2 separate regions of the Homo sapiens genome follow, and region 1 is linked to region 2. The links are contacts of gene promoters, found by promoter capture Hi-C in human tissues and cell types (Jung and others, 2019). All regions are on one chromosome and are shown on one strand. Each heading gives the region's core, a stretch centred on a gene start or on the middle of the fragment in contact. The rest is flanking DNA. Distances are from core to core; before and after follow the strand shown. Region 1 has its middle 9.4 kb from the start of RNASEH2C. Region 2 holds the start of RIN1 (Ras and Rab interactor 1).

Evidence for each region. The method cuts DNA at HindIII sites, captures the fragments that hold promoters and counts their contacts. A contact is called where the count stands out against the background at its distance.
Region 1: a fragment that was not itself captured here is called in contact with the fragment with the promoter of RIN1 in region 2 in 1 of the 25 tissues and cell types used here (dorsolateral prefrontal cortex).

What each region holds. Positions count from the first base shown.
Region 1 is chr11:65,727,241-65,733,121 of GRCh38, forward strand. It overlaps the pseudogene KRT8P26. Among named protein-coding and RNA genes, the nearest start is that of RNASEH2C, 9.4 kb to the left of the region's middle. The HindIII fragment of the contact is 6,520 bases long and covers 1-4,683 here.
Region 2 is chr11:66,334,001-66,337,683 of GRCh38, forward strand. RIN1 (Ras and Rab interactor 1) reads right to left here and starts at 2,434. Exons shown (of 10, transcript NM_004292.3): 1 at 2,317-2,434; 2 at 1,978-2,158; 3 at 1,762-1,876; 4 at 1,610-1,682; 5 at 1,407-1,498; 6 at 514-1,251; 7 at 1-224. The coding sequence starts at 2,402. BRMS1 (BRMS1 transcriptional repressor and anoikis regulator) reads right to left here. Exons shown (of 10, transcript NM_015399.4): 10 at 3,339-3,683. RefSeq lists an enhancer at 2,914-3,683. The HindIII fragment of the contact is 7,337 bases long and covers 377-3,683 here.

The sequences.
Region 1 (5,881 bases), core at 174-2,673, 610 kb before region 2:
AGGAGCAGATCAAGACCCTCAACAAGTTTGCCTCCTTCATCGACAAGGTGCAGTTCCTGGAGCAGCAGAACAAATGCTGGAGACTAAGTGGAGCATCCTGCAGCAGCAGAAGACAGCTGGGAGCAACATGGACAGCGTGTTTGAGAGCCACATCCACAGCCTTGGGCAGCAGCTGGACACTGGGCCAGGAGAAGCTGAAGGTGGAGGCAGATCTTGGCAACACGCAGGGGCTGCTGGAAGACTTCAACGATAAGTACCAGGATGAGATCAACGAGCGGACAGAGATGGGGAATGAATTTGCCTTCATCGAGAAGGATGTGGATGGAGCTTACATGAACAAGGCAGTGCTGGAGTCTCACCTGGAAGGGCTGACTGACAAGATCAACTTCCCCAGAGAGCTGTGTGAAGAGGAGATCTGGAAGCTGCAGTCCCAGATCTCGGACACGTCTGTGTGCTGTCCATGGACAACAGCCACTCCCTGGACGTGGATGGCATCATCGCGGAGGTCAACGCCCAGTACGAGGAGATCGCCCACTGCGGCCAGGCAAGGCTAAGAGTCTGCACCAGGTCAAGGATGAGGAGTTGCAGACACTGGCTGGGAAGCACGGGGATGACCTGCGTCGCGGGAAGATGGAGAACTCTGAGATGATCCGCAACATCAGCGGGGTCCATGCTGAGATTGAGGGCCTCAGAGGCCATCGCGGATGCTGAGCAGCGTGGGGAGCTGGTGGAGCTGGAGGCTGCCCTGTAGCAGGCCAAGCAGGACCTGGCGCCGGCCAAGCAGGACCTGGCGCCGCAGCTGCTTAAGTAGACAGCTGAGCTCGGCCTCCCGGGGCCTCACAAGCCCTGGCCTCAGCTACGGCCTGGGCCCCAGCCTTGACTCTGGCAGGGATTTCAGCTCCTTCAGCCGCACCAGCTCCTCCAGGACCATGGTTGGGAAGCTGGTGTCCGAGTCCTCTGATGTCCTGCCCAAGCGAACAACTATGGCAGTCCCTCCCAGCCTACCCCCTCTTGCAGCTGCCCCAGAGCTTGTGGGGGAGGCTGCTGTGCAGGAAAGCGCAGGGAACAGGAGACCCACTTGAGGCTCAGCCCTCCTCCACAGCCCACTTGTGTGGGGTAACTCCCTTGCCCATGCCTCCATCACAAAACAATTCCACTGTTTTGTTTTGTTTTGTTTTGTTTTTTCAAGATAAAGCCTCAGCTAGCTCTGTCAACTGTCAAAAAGCAAAAAACAAACAAAACCCAGAAAACCCTACCAGGGTTGTTTGGTCCTCCCCGTTGGAATGGGGGGAGATATCTTGTATCTCCACAGACCCAACTTAGTGGCTAAAGATAGGCATCACACCTCACAGGGCCTCTATTGCACCCCAAATGGGTTCGTTTTCATTTGTGGTCATAAGTGGGAAGAAGTCACATCCCATAACCACTCCTAACTCCCCAGAGGACCTCCTGTTCTTTTAGGAGTAGCTTTCCTTTGTATATCAAAAACTTGGAACAGGGGTGAGTGTATGTTGGCCACCCTTTGGCCTTCCGGGGGTCACCATATAAAACCCTGTAAGACCGAGGAATACCAGAAATGAATGATCAATAGGATTAATTCTGACATGAACTGGAGTGGCATTAGAACTAGTGGCCCCCTGGGGTGGCTTTGCCTACCATGAGTTGGCCCTAAAGAACTGACTCAAACCCTGGAATCATTAGCCACCAACACAGGTCAGGCATTAAAAGGAATTCAGGGATTCCTAGACTCTTTGGCAAATGTAGTTCTTGATAAGAGACTAGCATTGGATTATTTACTAGCTGAACAAGGTGGAGGCTGTGCAGTTATGAATAAAACCTGGACAGGTTGAGATTAACATTCACACGATCTATCAGCAATCTATCTGGTCACATAGATGCTGGGTCACTGACTCCAGCTATATCTGCTCGATTATCAAAAATGCCCTCCCGGCCGGGCACAGTGGCTCATGTCTGTAATCCCAGCACTTGGGAGGCCGAGGCAAGTGAATTGCCTGAAGTCAGGAGTTCGAGACCAGCCTGGCCAACATGGTGAATCCCTGTGTCTACTAAAAATACAAAAATTAGACGTACGTGGTGGCGGGCGCCTGTAATCCCAGCTACTTGGGAGGCTGAGGCAGGAGAATTGCTTGAACCCGGGAGGCAGAGGTTGCAATGAGCTGAGATCGCGCCATTGAACTCCAGCCTGGGCAACAAGAGCAAGACTTCATCTCAAAAAAAAAAAAAAAAAACCCCTCCCAAGTCTCACTTGGTTCTTACCTCTCCTAGGACCTTTGATAGCTGTCTTGTTATTACTAATCTTTGGCCCTTGCTTTTTTAACCTCTTTTTTTTTTGAGATGGAGTTTTGCTCTTTGTTGCCCAGGCTAGAGTGCAATGGCACGATCTCAGCTCACTGCAACCTCCCCCTCCTGGGTTCAAACGATTCTCCTGCCTCAGCCTCCTGAGTAGCTGGGATTACAGGTGTGAGCCACCACACCTGGCTAATTTTTGAATTATTAGTAGAGATGGGGTTTCACCATGTTGTTTCACCATGGGCTGGTCTCGAACTCCTGACCTCAGGTGATCTGCCCACCTCGGCCTCCCAAAGTGCTGGAATTATAGGCATGAGCCACCACTCCCGGCCTGCTTGTTTAACCTCTTAATAAAGTTTGTGTCTTCTAGGTTACAACAGTTCCAGGTAAAGACAATGCTGGCACAAGGTTTCTAACCCATCCATCTTCTGACCTAGAGAATGAAAGCATCCTGCCTTTGGGCCGCCTTGGGTCAGGTATCTGGAGATTTTTACTCCTCTAGTGCTATGCAGGGCCTATTCCCATGAACTCAGCAGGGAGCAGTTACAGAACATGGACCTCCACCCTTTTGCAACCCCTTTCAGATTAAGGAGGAGTATCTGATCTCTGAGGGGAGAATGAGGTAGGAGGCAGGTGGGACTCGACTGTGGGCCAGGTTGAAGACTGGTTGAAACTGGGAAGAGTCTGTGTGTGGTGGCTCATGCCTGTAATGCCAGCACTTTGGGAGGCCGAGCCGGGTACATCACTTGAGGCCAGGAGTTCAAGACCAGCCTGGCCAATATGGTGAAACACCGTCTCTACTAAAAATATAAAAAATTATACAAAAATTAGCCAGGTGTGGTGGCGGGCGCCTGTAGTCCCAGATACTCAGGAGGCTGAGACAGGAGAATCACTTGAACCTGGGAGACGGAGGTTGCAGTGAGCTGAGATTTCATCACTGCACTCCAGCCTGGCTCCATTTCAAAAGAAAAGAAACTGGGAAGAGACACTGAAGGCACCTTTCCATAAGACATGCCCACTAACGCCATGACTGTTTACCATTGCCATGGCAACACCTGAAAGTTACTGCCCATTTTTGAGCTATTTTAAAATAACCGACCCCTTAATTAGCATACCATTAAGAGTGGGTATAAATATAACTGCAAAAGTGCCCCTAGGCTGCTACTCTCAGCACACTGCCTATGAGGTAGCCCTGCATGGCAGGAGCAGTCACGGAGCTGTGACGTTGCCACTGCTTCAATAAAGCTGTTTTCTTCTACCCCCGGCTTGCTCTTGAATTCCTTCCTGAGTGAAGCCAAGAATTTGCCCTGCCTCACCTTGAGATACCATAAACATTTTAGGATGGTTATTTAAGAAATGTCAGTGAAAAACATCATCATGACTTTGATAGGGATTGCATTGAATATGTAGATTGCTTTGGGTAGTATTCACATCTTAGCAATATTAACTCTTCCAATCCACAAACATGGGAAGTGTTTCCATTAATTTATGTCTTCTTTAATTTCTTTCAGCAATGTTTTGTAGTTTCTATTGTATAAGTCGTTTACCTGTTGGTTAATTCCTAAATATTTTATTTTATTTAATTATTTGATTTATTTTATTTTATTTTATTTTATTTTTTGAGATGGAGTTTCCCTCTTGTCGCCCAGGCTGGAGTGCAGTGGCACGATCTCGGCTCACTGCAACCTCCGCCTCCTGGGTTCAAGCGATTCTCCTGCCTCATTCTCCCGAGTAGCTGGGATCACAGGCGCCTGCCACCATGCCTGGCTAATTTTTGTATTTTTAGTAGAGACAGGGTTTTGCCATGTTGGCCAGGCTGGTCTTGAACTCCTGACCTCAGGTGATCCACCCGCCTCAGCCTCCCAAAGTGCTGGGATTACAGGCATAAGCTACCGCACCCGGCCAATATTTAATTCTTTTGAATGCATTGTAAATGGAATTGTTTTTAAATTTCCTTTTCAGATTGTTAGCACATAGAAATGCGACTTTTTATGTGTTTACGTTGTATGTGCTACTTTGTTGAAATCATTTATTAATTCTAACAGTTTTTTTTTTTTGATGTGTGGAACCTTTAGAATTTTCTACATAAAAGATCATATCAGGCCTGAGCCTGGTGGCTTATAACAGTAATCATAGCAAATTGGGAGGCTGGGGTGGGAGAATCACATGAGGCCAGGAGTTTAAGAATGCAGTGAGCCATGATTGTGCCACTGCACTCTAGCCTGGGTAATAGAGTAAGACCCCAACTAAAAAAAAAAGGATCAATGTAATCAGTGAACAGAGATGATTTTACTTCTTCCTTTCCAGTGTGGATGCCTTTTATTTCTTTTTCTTGCCTAATTGCTCTGGCTAGAATGTTCAGTGCTATGTTGAATGGAAATAGTGAAAGCAAGCATCCTTGCTTTGTTCCTGATATTAGAGGAAATGTTTTCAATGTTTCACCATTGAGTATGGTGTTCACTGTGGGTGTTTTATATATGGCTTTTTATTATGGTGAGGGTGTATACTTCTATTTCTAGTTTGTTGAGTGTTTATTTTTATCATGAAAAGGTGTTGAATTTTGTCAAATGCTTTTGCTGTTAGAAGGGGAAGGGTCTGTATACCGAAAACTATAAAACACTGATGAAAGAAATGGAAGGAGGCTGGGCACGGTGGCTCATGCCTGTAATCCCAACACTTTGCGAGGGCCAGGTGGGCGGATCACGAGGTCAGAAGTTCGAGACCAGCCTTTCTAATATGCTGAAACCCTGTCTCTACTAAAAATACAAAAAGTAGCCGGGCATGGTGGCGCATGCGTGTGGTCCTGGCTACTCAGGAGGCTGAGGCAGAAGAATCACTTGAACTCAGGAGGTGGAGGTTGCAGTGAGCTGAGATCGTGCCGCTGCACTCCAGCCTGGGTAACAGAGTGAAACTCCATCTCAAAAAAAAAAAAAAAAAGAAATGGAAGGAAACACATATAAATGCAAAGATATCCCATGTTCATGGATTGGAATAATTAGTATTGTTAAAATGTCCATAGTAACCAAACTACCCAAATCCACAGAATCAATGCAATCCTTATCAAAATTCCAAAGTCTTTTTTTATAAAAAAGAAAAAACAATCCTCAAGTCCACATGGAACCACAAAAGACCCCAAACAGTCAAAGCAATCCTGAGCAAAATAACAAATCTGGAGGCATCATACTCCCTGATTTCAAAATATATTATAAAGTTACTGTAATCAAAATAGCATGGTACTGCCATTAAAAAAAAGATATATCAACACATGGAACAGGATATAATGCCCCCAAAATAAACCCATACATTTATGGCAAATTGATTTTTGACAAAGATGCCAAGAATATACAATTTGAAAAGGATACTCTCTTTAATAAATGGTATTGAGAATGCAGAAGATGAAACTAGACTCTTATCTTACACTATATACAAAAATCAACTCAAAATGGATTAAAGACTTAAATATAAAACAAACTGTAAAACTACTAGAAAAAACATAGAGGAAAAGATCTATGACATTGGTCTGAGCAATGAATTTTTGAAAATGACCCTGAAAGCACAGGCAACAAAAGCA
Region 2 (3,683 bases), core at 1,184-3,683:
GAGCAGCTGCAGCAGCTTCTGGCGCACTTGCTCCAACTCTACTGGGGAGGGCAGGCTCAGGTGGGACCCGAAGGCTCCGGGGCCCTGGGCCCGGGCCAGGCGGAGGCCCTCAGCTAGGCGGCCCAGGGAGCCGTCTGCGGCAAGCCGGCGCCGCAGGCGGGCTGCCAGGATGGGCCGGAGAGGCTTGAGCACAGAGCAATGCAATGACTTCTCCAGGACATGTTCTGCCGGAGGGACAGGGAGGGGTCAGGGGAAGACTGGGGGTATGGGGGGCAGAGGCAAGGGGAGAAGGGAGCAGGGGTAGAATCGGGGAGGAGAGGCAAGGAAAGCAGGAGGAGGTAGCCTGGGTGAGACGGAAGAGTTGGGGGAGAGAGGGGATGGAACTCTCTCGAACAGTGGTAAGACAAGATGGATTTGTAAAGCAGCAGAACAGAATCAGACAGGCTGGCGCTGTGGAGGGGAGCAGAGGGTCGGATGGGGCAGTGCTGGAGCTATGGAGAGACGGAGCCTCACCCAGCCTCTTAGGCGACAGCAGCTTCTCAGGGCCCAGCTCCGCACTCAGCATGGCCCGGGCCCGGCTCAGCGCCTGACGGATGCCCTGCAGCTCCTGGGGCTCGGGCCCAGCCCGCACCTGGGTCAGTAGGTCCTGCACCAGCTGGCCCGCGGCTGTGTGTCGGTCCTGCATCAGTGCTGCCGCAGCCCGGCCCACCTGCCGCTCCGGTGCCAGTAGGGAGCAGAAGGCGGCGCTCATGGACCGAAGCAGAGGTCGTCGGCGGCCCAGGTGGGGTGAGGTCGCTGGGCTCCCCCGGGACCCTGGCACCCCCTCCTCCTCGGAGCTGCTGGGGGAGCCGCAGTCCACCTCTTGGAGGGAGGGCATAGGCGGAAGGCTAGGGCCACTGCCTGCTGGCACGCGGTACCCCACTGAGCTCTCCCTCCGTAGCAGCTGGCAAGGGGGCAGCCGCTCTGTCTGGCTGGGGACTGCCCCTGGCAGCACGGGGACGGGGGGAGGTGGCACGGCAGGTGGAGACAGGGGGCTGGAGGTCTCTGTGGACACGCGCACTTTGAAGCTTCTCTTGAATTTCTCCCGCTTGGTGGGCCCTAGGTCCCCCGGGAACAGGGGGTTGAAGAAGCACAAGGCGGCTCCGGTGCCCTGGTCCAGCTCTTGAGGGGACCGGGCCTTCAGCTGGGGCAACACTGGGCCTCCAGCCGGGCCCCGCTGAGCCTTGATGTTGAGGGAGGAGCTCCAGAACTCTAGGGAACAAGAAACCGACTGGGGCCTCCGGGACTGGTTAGGGGAAGTTTCCCAACCAAGGCAAGGCAGGGGCTTCGGGCGGTGTGCTGCGAGCCTTGCCTTCCCCTCGGCCTCAGCTTGTTCATCTGTGCAATGGGTGGCAGGAAGCCCTTACCAATGCCCAGATGGGAGATGGCCTCCAGCTCTTTGTGAGTGGCTGCGTGGTGGATGGCTCTGGGGAGCTGCAGCGGGAGGAGAAGGATGTCCCTGAGGCCAGAGAGGGGAGCAGAAGGGAGTGAGGGCCGAAGAGGGCGGGAAGGATGGGCTGTCCCAAGGAGCAGGGCCCGTGGACACCAGGCACCCTGCGGGCAGACTCACCGGGTGTGGCAGTAGGCACAGATGAGCTGGACTAGGTCTGGGAACATGAGCTCCGAGCCCTCCAAGGAGACGCCTGAGAGAGGAGGGAAGTGAGGTGCTTCTCTGGGGAACCTCCCTGCTTCCAGCCCCTTCCCGCCAGGCCAGCCCCTCACCGCCAGGGCTCTCCAGGATGTAGTGGCTGGAGACGAAGGAGGGGCCACTGGCTTCAGGCAACCGCATGCACAGGGCCTGGCACTGGCGGGTGTTAGATTTCCGCACGAGGAACGTCTGCAAGTGGATAGGGCTCAGGCAGCTCAGGACCTTGGCGTCCCATCCCTCTCCCTCCCACCCCTGGCTGGCCAGTCCCTGGAGTGTGGGGCAAGACTCACCCCCGGGGGCTCGGTCCTCAGCATGTGCAGTGCGGCCGCTGCGTTGGCTTGCAGCTGCAGCCACACGGGCCGGGTGAGCAGCAGGCGCTCCCGCAGGCTCACAACGCGCCCCGGCCGCTGCGGCCCGCCTGCCTGCCCGCCGCTGGCATTGGGCACGTCATACAGTGGGTCCTGGGCTGGCCTGGGGGCAGGCACCCAGATCTGAGCAGGGAGCCAGGGGCTGGGACCCTTGCTCTCCTCTTCCCCACTCCCGGGTTTCCCACTTTCTCTATCCCCGGATAGGCCCTCCTCTCGCAGCCCCTCCCTGCCCCACCTGGCTGCCCTGCCAACTTCACTAACTTTTCTCTCGCCAGGTGCCCAGTAGTGAAGCTGGACGGGCTGGGGGCTCCAGGAGAGCCCGCGCCTGACTCTCCAGGGCTTTCCATGGCTGGGAGCTCCTTCGCTTCAGGAAGAGAATCCAGTCCCAAGGCAAGGCACGCACATCCCCAGTGAGTAACACTTCCTGAGGGCGGTCCGCCTGTCACACCCGCCAGTTAACTCTTGTGTGTCCACCCTGCCTGGCCAGTGCCCGCCTCCTCTGTTCTGGACCCTGCTTTGGGGGTCAGGGGTCCCCTCCATGCTAGCCCTGCTCTGAGGGCCCCAGCTGGGGGATGCCACCTCCACACACGGCCTCCTGCAGCCTCACCAGCTACTCACATTGCACACGTGGGCGGGAAGTGGTTAAGCGGCCTCAGTCCCCACAGGCCCCAGCCATGCTCTGGGGGCACCTTTGGCTCTGTGGTCAGTTGCTCATCTGCCCCTGGCCTCAGGTCAGCCTTGTGGGAGAGCACCCTCTACTGTCCATAGATGACTCATTCCTGAACCTGGGTTTTAGGATTTTAGGTTGCCATGGAGAAAATATGCCATGTCTCCATGGAAACCAACCTATTTGCTTAACTGAGGTTCTGGGGGTGGTTCTGACACTCAGTGCTAACCAGGGGGAGTCTGGCTGTGAGGTCGTCAGCACATGGCGGTGCTGCCGGCTGCCTCCCACGCACGCAGGCTCTGCCAGCCTGCCTTGCCAATCTGCCAGGCAACTGGGACAGGTGCAGACATGACCCAGGCTCCAAGCACACGCATCCACCCTCCCCGCCGAGGCACTCTCCCGGTGCCATATGTTGACTCTGCCCAGCGCCAGGCAGCCCAGCGCCCACCTCCCCCTCCCCAGCCTGGCCCCACGCACAGTGCTCTAGCCTCTGCTGGGTAGTGTGAGGAGTGGCAATCTGCAGGCACCCTAGAAGTCGGCCTGGTTCAGGTGCTCCCCACGGGAGCCCTGATTCTCTTGCAAGGTAAATCACACACACACACAGGGCACGCCAGAGTCCCAGGAAAGGTTTTAATTCCAGTCCTTGGAATCTGAGAAGCAGACACCAAGAACTGCCCTGAGAACACCTGGGGGGCCTGGCATCTTGCCTCCAGATCCAGCCAGGGTGGACAGACCCCCAGATAATCACGTCTGACTCAGAGTTCCCGCACAGTGGAAACTGGCTCCCTGGCCCTGAGGCCGGACAGCCTGCATCCAACATCAGCAAGAGGATGTGGCTTTGACTTCGGCTGTCTTCTCTGTCAGGGGAGCCCCAAGAGATGGATCTTCAGGAGTGGGAGGTGGCAGGCGGCTCAGGGATGGAGACAGCAGCCTTGCCTGGTCAGGTCAGCTCCACGGCCAC